2 separate regions of the Homo sapiens genome follow, and region 1 is linked to region 2. The links are contacts of gene promoters, found by promoter capture Hi-C in blood cells and fetal thymus (Javierre and others, 2016). All regions are on one chromosome and are shown on one strand. Each heading gives the region's core, a stretch centred on a gene start or on the middle of the fragment in contact. The rest is flanking DNA. Distances are from core to core; before and after follow the strand shown.

What was found. The method cuts DNA at HindIII sites, captures the fragments that hold promoters and counts their contacts. A CHiCAGO score of 5 or more calls a contact.
Region 1: a fragment that was not itself captured here is called in contact with the fragment with the promoter of ADAMTS16 in region 2 in 16 of 17 cell types (megakaryocytes, M0 macrophages, endothelial precursors and 13 more); the score reaches 55.5 in megakaryocytes.

The regions. Positions count from the first base shown.
Region 1 is chr5:5,414,779-5,421,020 of GRCh38, forward strand. It overlaps LOC101929200 (a long non-coding RNA gene), which reads right to left. Exons shown (of 6, transcript XR_001742583.3): 2 at 5,973-6,062. Among named protein-coding and RNA genes, the nearest start is that of ICE1, 4.8 kb to the right of the region's middle. RefSeq lists an enhancer at 4,505-4,574. The HindIII fragment of the contact is 1,637 bases long and covers 4,175-5,811 here.
Region 2 is chr5:5,138,920-5,144,943 of GRCh38, forward strand. It overlaps ADAMTS16 (ADAM metallopeptidase with thrombospondin type 1 motif 16), which reads left to right and starts at 1,411. Exons shown (of 23, transcript NM_139056.4): 1 at 1,411-1,620; 2 at 1,745-1,847. The coding sequence starts at 1,549. ADAMTS16-DT (ADAMTS16 divergent transcript) reads right to left here and starts at 1,135. Exons shown (of 4, transcript NR_109915.1): 1 at 1,037-1,135. ADAMTS16-AS1 (ADAMTS16 antisense RNA 1) reads right to left here. Exons shown (of 2, transcript NR_198969.1): 2 at 3,219-3,452. RefSeq lists an enhancer at 617-1,183. The HindIII fragment of the contact is 3,896 bases long and covers 1-3,589 here.

The DNA.
Region 1 (6,242 bases), core at 3,743-6,242, 280 kb after region 2:
TGCCACTCCATTTCTTTAACCTCTTCAAAGATCTAAAACTTTTCTACCCTGGCTTACAAGACTCTACATGATCTGGCCTGTGCCCCATCCCTCCTCTTAAGTAAATCAATACCAAGTGGCTCCTTGTTCACTATAGTCTGGGTTACCTGAGCTGACTTCTGATGCTTTAACATGCCACATTCACTCCAGATAGGGAGACTTCCTGTCATTACTCCCACTGCCTGGAAGTTTGCTCTTGGTTTTTGTTGTCTTTTTTTCTCCAAAGAGACTTTATTTTTTAGAGCAGTTTTACTTTCACGGCAAAATCAAGCAAAAAGGACAGAGTTCTCATATACCACCTGCCCCCATGCATGCACAGCCTCCTCCACTATCAACACCACACTCATAGTGGTACGTTTGTTATAACCAGTGAGTTTACACTGACACATTGTTACGTGTCACGCCAAAGTTCATAGTCTACATTGGGGTTCACTCAGTGTTGGACATTTTAGGAGTTTTGACAAATGTAACACATGTATCCACCGCTATGATATACAGAATTCTTTCACTGCCCTAAAAATCCTTCTGCCTGTTCATCCCTTCCTCCCCTATCTCAAACCAAGGAAACCACTTTTTTTTTTTTTTAAAAATGTCTCTATCATTTCCCTTTTCTAGAATGCCATATAGTTGGAAGGACACAGCATGTAGCCTTTTCAGGTTGACTTCTTTCCCTTAGTAATGTTCATTTAAGGTTTCCCCATGCCTTTTCATGGCTTGAGAGCTCATTTATTTTTTAGCACTGTATAATATTCCATGGTTTGTGATATGGTTTGGATGTGTCCCCACCCAAACCTCATCTTGAATTGTAGCTCACATAATCCCCATGTGTTGTGGGAGAGACCCAGCGGGAGGTAATTGAATCACGAGGGTGATTACCCCCATGTTGCTATTCTCATGATAGTGAGTTCACACACGATCTGAGGGTTTTATAAGGGGCTTTTCCCGTATTTGTTTGACACTTCTCTTTCCTACTGCCATGTGAAGGGCATGTTTGCTTCCCCCTTCCTCCATGATTGTAAGTTTCCTGAGGCCTCCCCAGCCCTGTGGAACTGTGAGTCAATTACACCTCTTTCCTTTATAAATTACCCAGTCTTGGGCAGTTCTTTATAGTAGTGTGAGAACAGACTAATTCAGTCTGCATGCATCCCAGTTGATTTATCCATTCACCTACTAAAGGAACATCTTGCTTTCTTCCATGTTTTGACAATTCTGAATAAAGCTGCTTAAATATTCATGTGCAGGACTGTGTGTGATGTTAAGTTTCAACTCATGTGCAGGATTGTGTGTGATGTTAAGTTTCAACTCATCTCGGTAAAGACCAAGGAGCATGATTGCTGCAGCTTTTGCTTTTTAACCTCACTGGATTATACTTTTACCCAGATATCAGCTGTTTAACATATTAATGTATTAATTCACTCAGCTTACTGATTCAGCAATCATTTCTTGGTAACTGATGTTTAGGAGACACGGTCTGGGTGTTGGGGACATGACAGTAAGTAGAGTGGGTTCTGCCCACTGGCACGGATGTCAGGGCACAAGGACTGGAGAGGATGATGCACACAGTGAGAGGTGCTGGGAGTCACACACATGCTGACTATGGCTGGCTGACCCCGTGACAGGGCGTGGGAGTAAAGAGGAGTCAGACAAACTCCTCAGTTTTCGGTCCTAGCAAGTGGGAGAACAGGGGCACATGCAGGCATCGTGCTGCAGGGAGATGCTCCTCGCAGGACCCAGGACAGAACCGGCTGCCAGGGATGGCAGCGACCATGATGGCTGTGGTGGGACAGGCAGACAGCTATCTTACCAACAGAACTCATGCTGCTTATATGTGGCGAGGAGACAAAGGAAAAAAAGGGAAGGACCAAGAATGATACCAAAAAAAAAAACCAAAAAAGTTTGATATTCAAAACTCTATCAAGGACATTTCCCATAGAAACTGGACTTGAATGGACCTTAGAGAACTGGTTGGATTTACTGCCTAGGATGGAAGGGGGTGCCACTTGCACGCCAAGCCCAATATTGCAGAGGGGCTGATTGGAGCTGTGCACTGTGAAGGATGAGAGCTGGGCACACACAACAACTGAGGAATTCATTGGGAGGTGAGTCAGAAGGAGGAGGAGGATGAAGAGGAAGAGGAGGAGGAGGGTGAGGAGGAGGGAGAGGGGAAGGAGGACGGGGAGGGAGGGGGAAGGAGGGGGAGGAGGAGGAGGAGGAGAAGGGGCTGCACATGCCTCAGCAAGGGCAGTACTGAGCAGAAGATGATCATAAAGTCACTTCCTCCATGTCTTGGTTTTTAAATCATTGCTGTCTGTGGGATTTGTCCTCTGGGCTCCTTCTTACCCCAGATGCAGTCTTGGGCACACACCCTAGCCTTTCCAGTCACTCGGAGACAACACAGTCCAGTGTGATGTGCTGTCACTTATTTCCTGTCTTCAACTTAGCTTCTTACCCATGGAGCTGGTGGCCGTTCTTAGACGCTAGCAAGATGGGTGTGGGTGGGTGGGAATGGGGCAAGACAGGCTTTTCCTCTGTTCCAACATTTTCCTTATTCACCAGCTTGTTTGTGACCCCTCCAAGCTTGGGGTAGGAGAAGGGATCAGGAGAAAAAGATGCAGTCTTTGTAACCTGGCTTCCCAAAGTGCTTGAGTCATAGTCCAAGAACAAAGAACAGGCTGGTGGGGTGGGCTTCTCTCCTGCAGCGAGCTCCTTGGGACGGAAGAGCATCTTCCGCACAGGACTGGGGCAGAGCTCAGCCAGGAGACCCACATTACACCCAGATTATTTTAAGAGAGAAAAGGTAAAAGCAAAACACTAAAATATCACAGGAGGAGCCACCGCAAGAAGCAGCTGACACCTTGGGCTGGAGAGAATAAAAGAAGGAGGAAGGAGTGAGCAAAACTCAGAAATGTGGAGGAGCTGCCACCCAGAAATCACACTCAGACATATGAAGAAGGGACCTTCTGGGCTGGTGCTGAGGCCTCTGCTCTTGGACTCAGGGCTCTGTGGAGCTGGGAAACCAACTTTGCTGGTATCTCCGAGGGGATGCTATGAGGCTGGCTCTGCGTGTGTCAGAGAAACTGCAGACCCAATTCGTATGCCGCTCTGTTCATGAACTGCCACTGCCAGGTGCGAAAGCAAGGATAGCAAGACGCTAGCAGGACCAGGAGTCGGACAGGACAGAATGGGAGGCACAGGCCCCTCTCCTACCTCTTATCTTCTGGTTTCCTTGTGTATATCTGTTGGCACAGCTGAACAGAACTCTGGCAGGAGAGGTGGCACGTGGCTCCCCAGTCCCTACGTCACAAGGCAGAGTATAAAAGGGAAGGTGTGGGGCCGAGAGACAGTAACTTAACCACCAGCTCAGGGTCCTGGGATTCATCCCTCTTCCAGTCAGCAGGAAGTGACAAAGAGCACAGGAAGGCCCTAGGGGCCAGGCCCCTTTTGCTGATGTTTGGCTGGTAGAACTTAATCACATGTCAGGTGCAGGGAGGCTGGGGAATAACTAGACAGAATAGAAACAAGTTTTGGTGAGTGGCTGCCACTGGTGCTGTGTGGATACAGTTCAAAGTGAGGACTTTCCAGCTGTGGACATCCAGCTACAGTTCTTTGAATGGGGGATGGAAGAGCAAAGTTTTATTTCTGGCTGCTCACTTTGCCTCAGCCTCGCTTTCCTCGCAGCTCCCACTGAAATGCCCACCGTATCCAGTATGCAGAACTCCTGCTCATCCCAGTGCGGGTGAGCATGCGGCTCAGTCACCTCCAACCCATCTCCTGGAGCTGTCCCACGGTTCCCTTGGAACCACTCTAGGGCATGTAGCATCTGACTCTGAGTGCTTCACTTCGTGGGGGCACTGATTAAAACAAAGCTCTGGAATATAGCATCATCGAGAGGCAACTGTTGATTTAATTTATTAACATATACATCCACTGAAATGGCTGCTAGATGTGGTCTAGAAACCAAGGAGACCCCCCACTGGCCTCAGGTGAAGGGGAAACATGTCCCTCCCTTTCCTATCCCTCCTCAGAGTTAGGTGGGACATGCCCTTGCCAGCTGCTCTACAGAGAATCCCCTCCTCAACACCTGTCACCTCTGAGCACCTGCCGCCTTCTTCCTCCGATCCCGGAAGCTACAAGAAGCTTCTCGTGTGACCAACTCTTACAGCCGCCAGGTGTTCACAAACCCGCAAGGCAGAGTGGGCTTGTCCTCCTTTACAGAGGGCGACTGCAATGTGAGAGTTGTGAAAGTCCTTTCAAATGTTGCTTTTTTTTTTTTTACTTTTCTCAATCAGCTTTCTCAGGTTGAAGAAAATTTTGCTTAATAATCATATCAGTTTTGCTTTCTATTTCAAACTAATTGTTTCAAAACTAAATTTTATTTGTCCGGTTTCTAAGTAACATCAGTGTTTCAGGAAGAAGCAACATGTTTACTCTCTGGCTTCAAATCACTTTGAGGGTAAGAGCTGAGGCTGTGAGCAAATTGCTGATGTCTGAGGACAAGTCGAAACCCCACCACTATAACCCTGAGTGTTGAGAAAAACTGGAGCAAAGACAGCTTAGGACTAAGCCTGGTGGAACGTGTGTGGGCGGATAGCAAAGTGGTTCCCACAAGACGCCTTCCACCCTAGGATGCCCCAGAGGATGGCCTTTCCCCTCAGCAAGAAGGTTCGGTTAAGTCCTAATACCGTCGGAAATTCTATTTATGTGGAAAACACACAGGGAAAGACAGACATCTTGTGGGCATATGGTAGCATTACATCACAGGTCTGGAAATTAATACCTAATAATCAGGGGGTCATATCATTGAATAACACACTGTTAGTCACAAACAATTCCATCAAACATCTCTCCAATTAAAAGAAACAAATGAACATATAGTTCATTTTTCTTACAGTTAAATGCATCAATTAAAAGCACAGCCTTGAACTTCCAAAGAATAGACAGCTTTCCATTTTGAGTTCTCCTTGGTTTCTAGACCATATCTATTAGCCATTTCAGTGGAAGTATATGTTAATAAACTAAATCAACAGTTACCTCTCAATGATGCTAATTCCAGAGCTTTCGTTTTAAGCAGACACCAAGTATCTGAGAGGTAATGAGCGTGTGGGGTGAGAAGTGAGACTTTTTGAGTTGGATCCTCTGAACAGCTGGCTGGATTCGACAGGCACAGGGAATCCCAAGACCAGAGACTGGAATGCAGACATTCCTCCGGGTCTTAGGGCTTCTCTGGCAGAAAAACAACAAGTTTATCTTGGAAGTTTGACAGGAAAAATGCTTTTAAAGAAAAAGCAAACCATCTTTTTCCTATGAGTCAGTTGAAGATATATTTATCTCCTTTCCAAAATGGATACCACCATCAATAAATTATTAATAACTATTTGTCTAGTGAATCCTATAGAGTGGGTCCCATCCTTGTCACTTTTTACTTAAATTACCGTTGGTCCTCTGTAAGGAAACACCAGCACAAATAGGTCATTTGCGTAAGAATTTAAAGACAGATGTGTGGTTCCAAAGCCATAGTTCACCACTTGCAGTATACACACTTGCTTGTTTGTTTCCATCGTGATGAAAAAACAGGTGTGGCCCATCATGCAGGAAAGAGAAAAAATGTAATTCTGACCATTCCTCAATTAGTGGCCTACTACATTTTCATTATGACCAATAATCACACCTGTTTTTTTACACCCTGCATGTTAAGAATGACTTTCACATTTTGAAGTTTCTTAAATAAACAGAAGGTGACAAATAGGTGGCACAGACCTGTGTGACCTACAAAGCTTAAATATTTACCATGTGGCTCTTCAGAGTCTGCCTATCCCTGCATTACGTAAACAAGACTCGTTTTCATTAGATGTCTTGAGAACTGGCTTTGAGAAAGGTAGGAGAAAATACACTTTTATTAACATTTTTGAAGGGAAATATTTGTTGTTTCTTACCTTCAATTATTTGCAGCACATTTGATTCTTTCTGACTTTCATTTAACATCTACTATGCAGCACTTTGCAGCATTTAAAGGGAAGACTCATCTGTAAGACATAAAAACCACCATCATCCAACTCAAAATGTGATGTTACTAAAAATTACTCCGTGCTAAGGGGATTTTTTGCCCCTTAGGTGGCAGATCCTTGGGGTTGTGGAGGTAAACCCCGGAGCCTGGAAGAGCAGGTAGGATTTCTACACCTAGAGCTAGAAGGAAGCGTGTTCCA
Region 2 (6,024 bases), core at 161-2,660:
GCCTCCCAAAGTGCTGGGATTACAGGCGTGAGCCACCGCGCCCGGCCTACTGCTCACTCTTTGGGTCCACTCTGCTTTCATGAGCTGTAACACTCACCGTGAAGATCTGCAGCTTCACTCCTGAGCCCAGCGAGACCACGAGCCCACCGGGAAGAACGAACAACTCCAGAGGCTCTGCCTTAAGAGCTGTAACACTCACCGCCTAGGTCTGCAGCTTCAATCCTGAGCCAGCGAGACCACGAACCCACCAGAAGGAAGAAACTCCGAACACATCTGAACATCAGAAGTAACAAACTCCAGACGCACCACCTTAAGAGCTGTACCCACTCACCGCGAGGGTATGCGGCTTCATTCTTGAAGTCAGTGAGACCAAGAACCCACCAATTCCAGACACACTATGGGCTCACAGCGTGTACTCGCGCACACGCAGTCAGGTGTGGATGTACACCCGCGCACACCCAGGCACATGTACACCCGCGCGCTCACACACCCCATCCAGCTACAGCAGAATTCTGGCCAGGCTGTTGACCGCACACCTGCTGCCTCCTTGGCCACCCTGTCCACACAGTAGCCCGATCGACCCCCGTGGCGGCCGAGACCCAGGCCCATCCGCAGCCCTGAGACCTCCCTAGGGATTGCACCCAGCAGCCAGTCACCGGCCTCCGCGGCCTGGCCAGTTGAGGGTGGCCGTGACCGCGGGGCCAGGAGCGCCGCCACATCTCGGGGCAAATGGCGCGGGGGAAGAGTTTCCTCCTCAGCCTCCCCGTCTCCGATCGCTCCGCAAACTCCAGAGCGAGGCACGCGCCTTTAAAGGCAGGTCCGCGGCTCTCCCACGTCCTGGCGCCCGGTTTTCCGCACCCAGTGTCCCCACAGCTGTGCCCGGGCACAGAGGCGCGGCCAGACCGCACTCCGCGGGCTGCAGGTGTCCCGGCCTCTGGCGGCGCCGGTGCGGCCCGGAGGTGGGAGCCCGCGGAGCCACTGCAGTAGCTGGAGTCCCGCCGAGTCCCCAGCCCCAAGGCAGGGCAGGAGCGCGCACCGGCCGGAGGTCCATGCTGAGCATCGCCCGCGCCGGTGCCCGGCAGCCTCTCCAACTGTGTGGTCCCCGCGCGGGCAGAGAGGCACGGACTGCAGGCCGTGGGCAGCTCCATCTTCCCGCGTCCTCCTCCTCTGGCGCTGCCCGCTGTCTCCCGCCTTCCCTCTGCTCCCCGCTCGCCTCCGCCTCAGCGCCCCGCTGACCTCGCCTCCTCCCCTCTGCTCTTTGTCCCTGCACTCTCCCCTCCTCGGTCCTCTGACCCCCCCGCCCTCACCTCCTCCCCTCCTCTCTCCCCTGCCCGCCCCGCGCTCTCCCACCGCTCCCGCCGCCCCCGCCGCCGCGGCTGCCACTCCGCCCCCCGCGCCGCACGGAGCTTCAGTAATAACCCCGGCGCGGCGGCGGAGTCGCTGTGGGGAATCCTCCCGCGCTCTGCCTGGGTCGGGTCCTCCCTGCCCGCTCGCACGCTGCCGGCCGGGGACCCTCCGGTGGCCCCTAGCCCCTCGGAGCGCTCCTGGATGAAGCCCCGCGCGCGCGGATGGCGGGGCTTGGCGGCGCTGTGGATGCTGTTGGCGCAGGTGGCCGAGCAGGTGAGTCCCGGGCGCTCCCACCAGCGCGGAAACCGCGGGTCCGGACAGCTGGAGGCGAGTCCCCCGCGGCTCCTCTCCCGCGGACCCCGCCGTCTCACCGCGATGTCGCCGCTGTTTTCCGCAGGCACCTGCGTGCGCCATGGGACCCGCAGCGGCAGCGCCTGGGAGCCCGAGCGTCCCGCGTCCTCCTCCACCCGCGGAGCGGCCGGGCTGGATGGAAAAGGGCGGTAAGTCCGTGAGGTGGGGGCTTCTAATCCTTGCCATTTAGCAGCTCGTAATCTCCGTGCCGCTGGTTTATTAGGTGCTGTGAATGTTCACGACTCTGTGGAACCCTACTTTTAAGATGCTGTTGTGAACTTTTTTTTTTTTTAACTGTATGAGCGAGCCCCGATGAGTGGATTTCCACCAATATTTACATTTTATTCCCTGGCAAAACGGTTTGCCAGAGTTATTGATATAACATTAGGAAAAAGGTGAGGAAGTTCATTTTATTTTATTCTAAAGAGCTTAGGAAGAATCTAAAGCTATTAATGTATGCATCAAAGCCGTCATAAAGAGCAAATTACTTTCTTTTCCGTCCCCTTCTACATCCTCGGATCCTCCTTCCCGTCCCCAACCTTTCCTCCTTCTCCTCCTTTATAGATTAAAATATTCCTCTATCGTTGCTTATTCTCAGTGAAGGAGATAAAAGAAGCGCTTAGCATCTCAATACCAAAGTTAATGCTCCAACAATCAGGGCGTACTTCAAACATAATAGTGCCTGAAATGGCTAATCAGCTGATTGTGACACCATCAGCAACGTTCATATCCTGGGCCACAATTTGACATGAGGGCAAGTCTTATTCTTTTTCAATGCATGCTTTTACTTCTGCCACTTACAAGTGACATTTGGAAATTTGCTGTCTTATGGAAAGGGATCTCTGTGTCTTCATACTGCATCAGGTAAATGAGAACGCAGGTGTGTCGCACTGGTTGCTAGGTGGTTTTTTAACCTGAACCCATCCAATGACAGTTAATAAATATTATTTTGCATTGTTACCAACAATAAATTGCCGTATCAAATGTTAATATTAATTGACTTTTATAGGAAGAACTAGGTTTCATTCTCTCAATGTATTTCCAGAAGATCTAGAAAATTAAAGTTAACAATTCAGAATTTCTCAGTATAGTTATTTCAATTTGATAAAATAACATAAAGGCAAGCACTTAATATATGCATTAACTTTTGAAATTATTCCCTGCCAAATGAGTACACAAATAGTATATAAGGTGACCGGTGTCAGATTGACGCTCACCATAGTACCTTTTTGAGAACCACCAGGGGGCGCTAGGTGCAAATGATATAAAATGTTAAAAAAAATTGTCACAGTGAATTTACAAGAGAAAGTTAATTATCTGTCCATTTACAGACTATCCTCTTGTGGTTGTCCTTGTCCTTTTTAGGGTTTTGCTTACAATACTAAAAGTTAATTCTTACAATTTTAAAGGTTAATTCTAATTCACCTTTTTAAGTAAGATTTTTGTAAAAAAAAAAAAAAAAATTCTAGTTCCCTAAAACCATGAAAATTCCAGAGGGACTCAGGAGATTTCCACAATAGTTTATGGCATTTATGAAGTTTTATTTAAGATAAAACACATTATAGACACAGAAGAAAGAAGAAGAAAAGCCAGGGCTTCGTGCCTAAGTGTGCTTTTCTCCTAAAGTGATTCAATCTGCTTCAGCATCCTCTCTGGGAGTGGGGTGCCAGTGTGCTGCTCTGAACACCTGGCACCACAGTTGTTGTCACAACGTATCGTCTCCATGACAACCACTTATCTGGCTTGGTAAGAACCTGAAGGGGAAGAGGCAAACCCTTCTTAGTGAAGTTCTAGCCCAGTGGACACAGCACACACCCTCCTCCCCTACCTTCTATGCACTTTAGCTCCTTAATTATAAATGGCTAATGTGTGAGTCTGGACATCCACAACAAGCTTTTATGCCACCAGAGAAAAGATCCTCCTCAACAGTGTTGCCTGTTTCCCTCTGACCTGGAGCAGAAGAGCTAGAAGACACTTGGTGACTGCTGGGGTCAACTTACTGTTGCCTGTCTAGGTATCCATTAGACAAGTTGGTTCTGAAATAACTAATTGTAGCCATACATTTTGTTTAAAGTAGCGCATGACTCAAACTATTATTGCAAATCATTCTTGGTGGCTGAAGTAATTACAAAATAGCAAAGAGAACAAAGCTGGAGGTGTCACACACTACCTACCTGACTTCAAACTATGCTACAAGGCTACAGTAACCAAAAAAGCATGGTACTGGTACCAAAACAGATATATAGATCAATAGAACAGAACAGAGACCTCAGAAATAACACCACGCATCTACAACCACCTGATCTTTGGCACATCTGACAAAAACAAGCAATGGGGAAAGGATTCCCTATTTAATAAATGGTGCTGGGAAAGCTGGCTAGCCATATGAAGAAAACCGAAACTGGACCCTTCCTTACACCTTATACAGAATCTAACTCAAGGTGGATTAACTATTTAAATGTTAAAACCTAAAACCAAAAGCAATTGCAACAAAGCCAAAACTGACAAATAAGATCTAATTAAACTAAAGAGCTTCTGCACAGCAAAAGAAACTATCATCAGAGTGAACAGGCAACCTAGAGAATGAGAGAAAATTGTTGTAATCTATCCATCTGACAATGGGCTAATATCCAGAATCTACAAGAAACTTAAACAAATTTAGAAGAAAAAAACAAACAACCCCATCAAAAAATGGGTGAAGTATATGAACAGACAATTTTCAAAAGAAGACATTTATGCGGCCAACAAACATATGAAAAAAACCTCATCATCATTGGTCATTAGAGAAATGCAAATCAAAACAACAACGAGATACCATCTCACGCCATTTAGAATGGCAATCTTTAAAAAGTCAGAAAACAACAGATTCTGGAGAGGATGTGGAGAAATAGGAACACTTTTACACAGTTGGTGGGAGTGTAAATTAGTTCAACCATTGTGGAAGACAGTGTGGCGATTCCTCAAGGATCTAGAACAAGAAATACCATTTGACCCAGCAATCCCATTACTGGGTATATACCCAGAGAATTATAAATCATTCTACTATTAAGACACATGCACACATATGTTTAGTGAAGCACTATTCACAATAGCAAAGACTTGGAACCAACCCAAATGCCCGTCAATGAGAGACTGGATAAAGAAAATGTGGCACATATACACCATGGAATTCTATGCAGCCATAAAAAAAGAATGAGTTCATGTCATTTGCAGGGACATGGATGAAGCTGGAAACCATCGTTCTCAGCAAACTAACACAGGAACAGAAAACCAAACACTGCATGTTCTCACTCGTAAGTGGGAGTTGAACACTGAGAACATATGGGCACAGGGAAAGGAACATCACACACCGGGCTTGTTGGGGGGTGAGGGGCAAGGGGAGGGATAGCATTAGAAATACCTAATGTAGATGGCAGGTTGATGGGTGCAGCAAACCACCATGATACATGTATACCTATGTAACAAACCTGTACGTTCTACACATGTATCCCAGAACTTAAATTATAACAAAAAAAAAATCAATGGTCACATGCTCACTAGCGAACATAATAACAATGCAGAGAATATAAAATAGAATTGTGCTAGTTTCTCTTCCTACCCCCCTCTGCCTTTACTATTTGCCTTCTGCATTTTGTCCAGATAATCTACAAGAATTTACTTATTGCCCTGTGTTCCTTACAGGCTACACTTTTTTTCCTTTAAAAGGTCACTTTGGCTTCAGAGCTTACAACGTACTTTGAAAGCTCATTATTTGATCAACTTTGCCTCATGTGGTGAAATAATATTTTAGATTTCATTCTTTTAGAGTATATTTTTACAAGCTTTAAGGTATTCCTTTCTATAGCTTTATGGTAATTTAGTTACCAATTATCCGTTGTTGATTATTGTTTAAAATTTTACCTCATTACAAATAATACTTCCATGAAAATATTTACATAAACTTTTTAAAATTCGTCTGGGATTATTTCCTCAGGGTGATTTCCCAGGTCAAAGTATTTTGCAACTCATTGCCAAAGCCGACTTTAGGAGGGTAGTGTCATTTTTATTTCCTGATATCAGCAGCGTTTGAAAGAGGTGGCCGGTGGTGGACTGATTTTTTGTTAATGCGATTGATTTCTATTTAGAAGGCTATACATCTCCTGCCACCTGTCCCACCCTTCTGTCTCTGTTTTCTGGATTCTCCTTCCCTGCTATCCTCTTAGGGTGCTCGTGAACATTCCTCTGCTCTTAGAGAGTTACAGGCTCTGTCTTTGAGTCTGGAGCAAGCTGCAGTCAGGTGCCATCTAAGCAGCCAACTGTGGAAAGAGTGGGAAGGGTGGAGCCCGT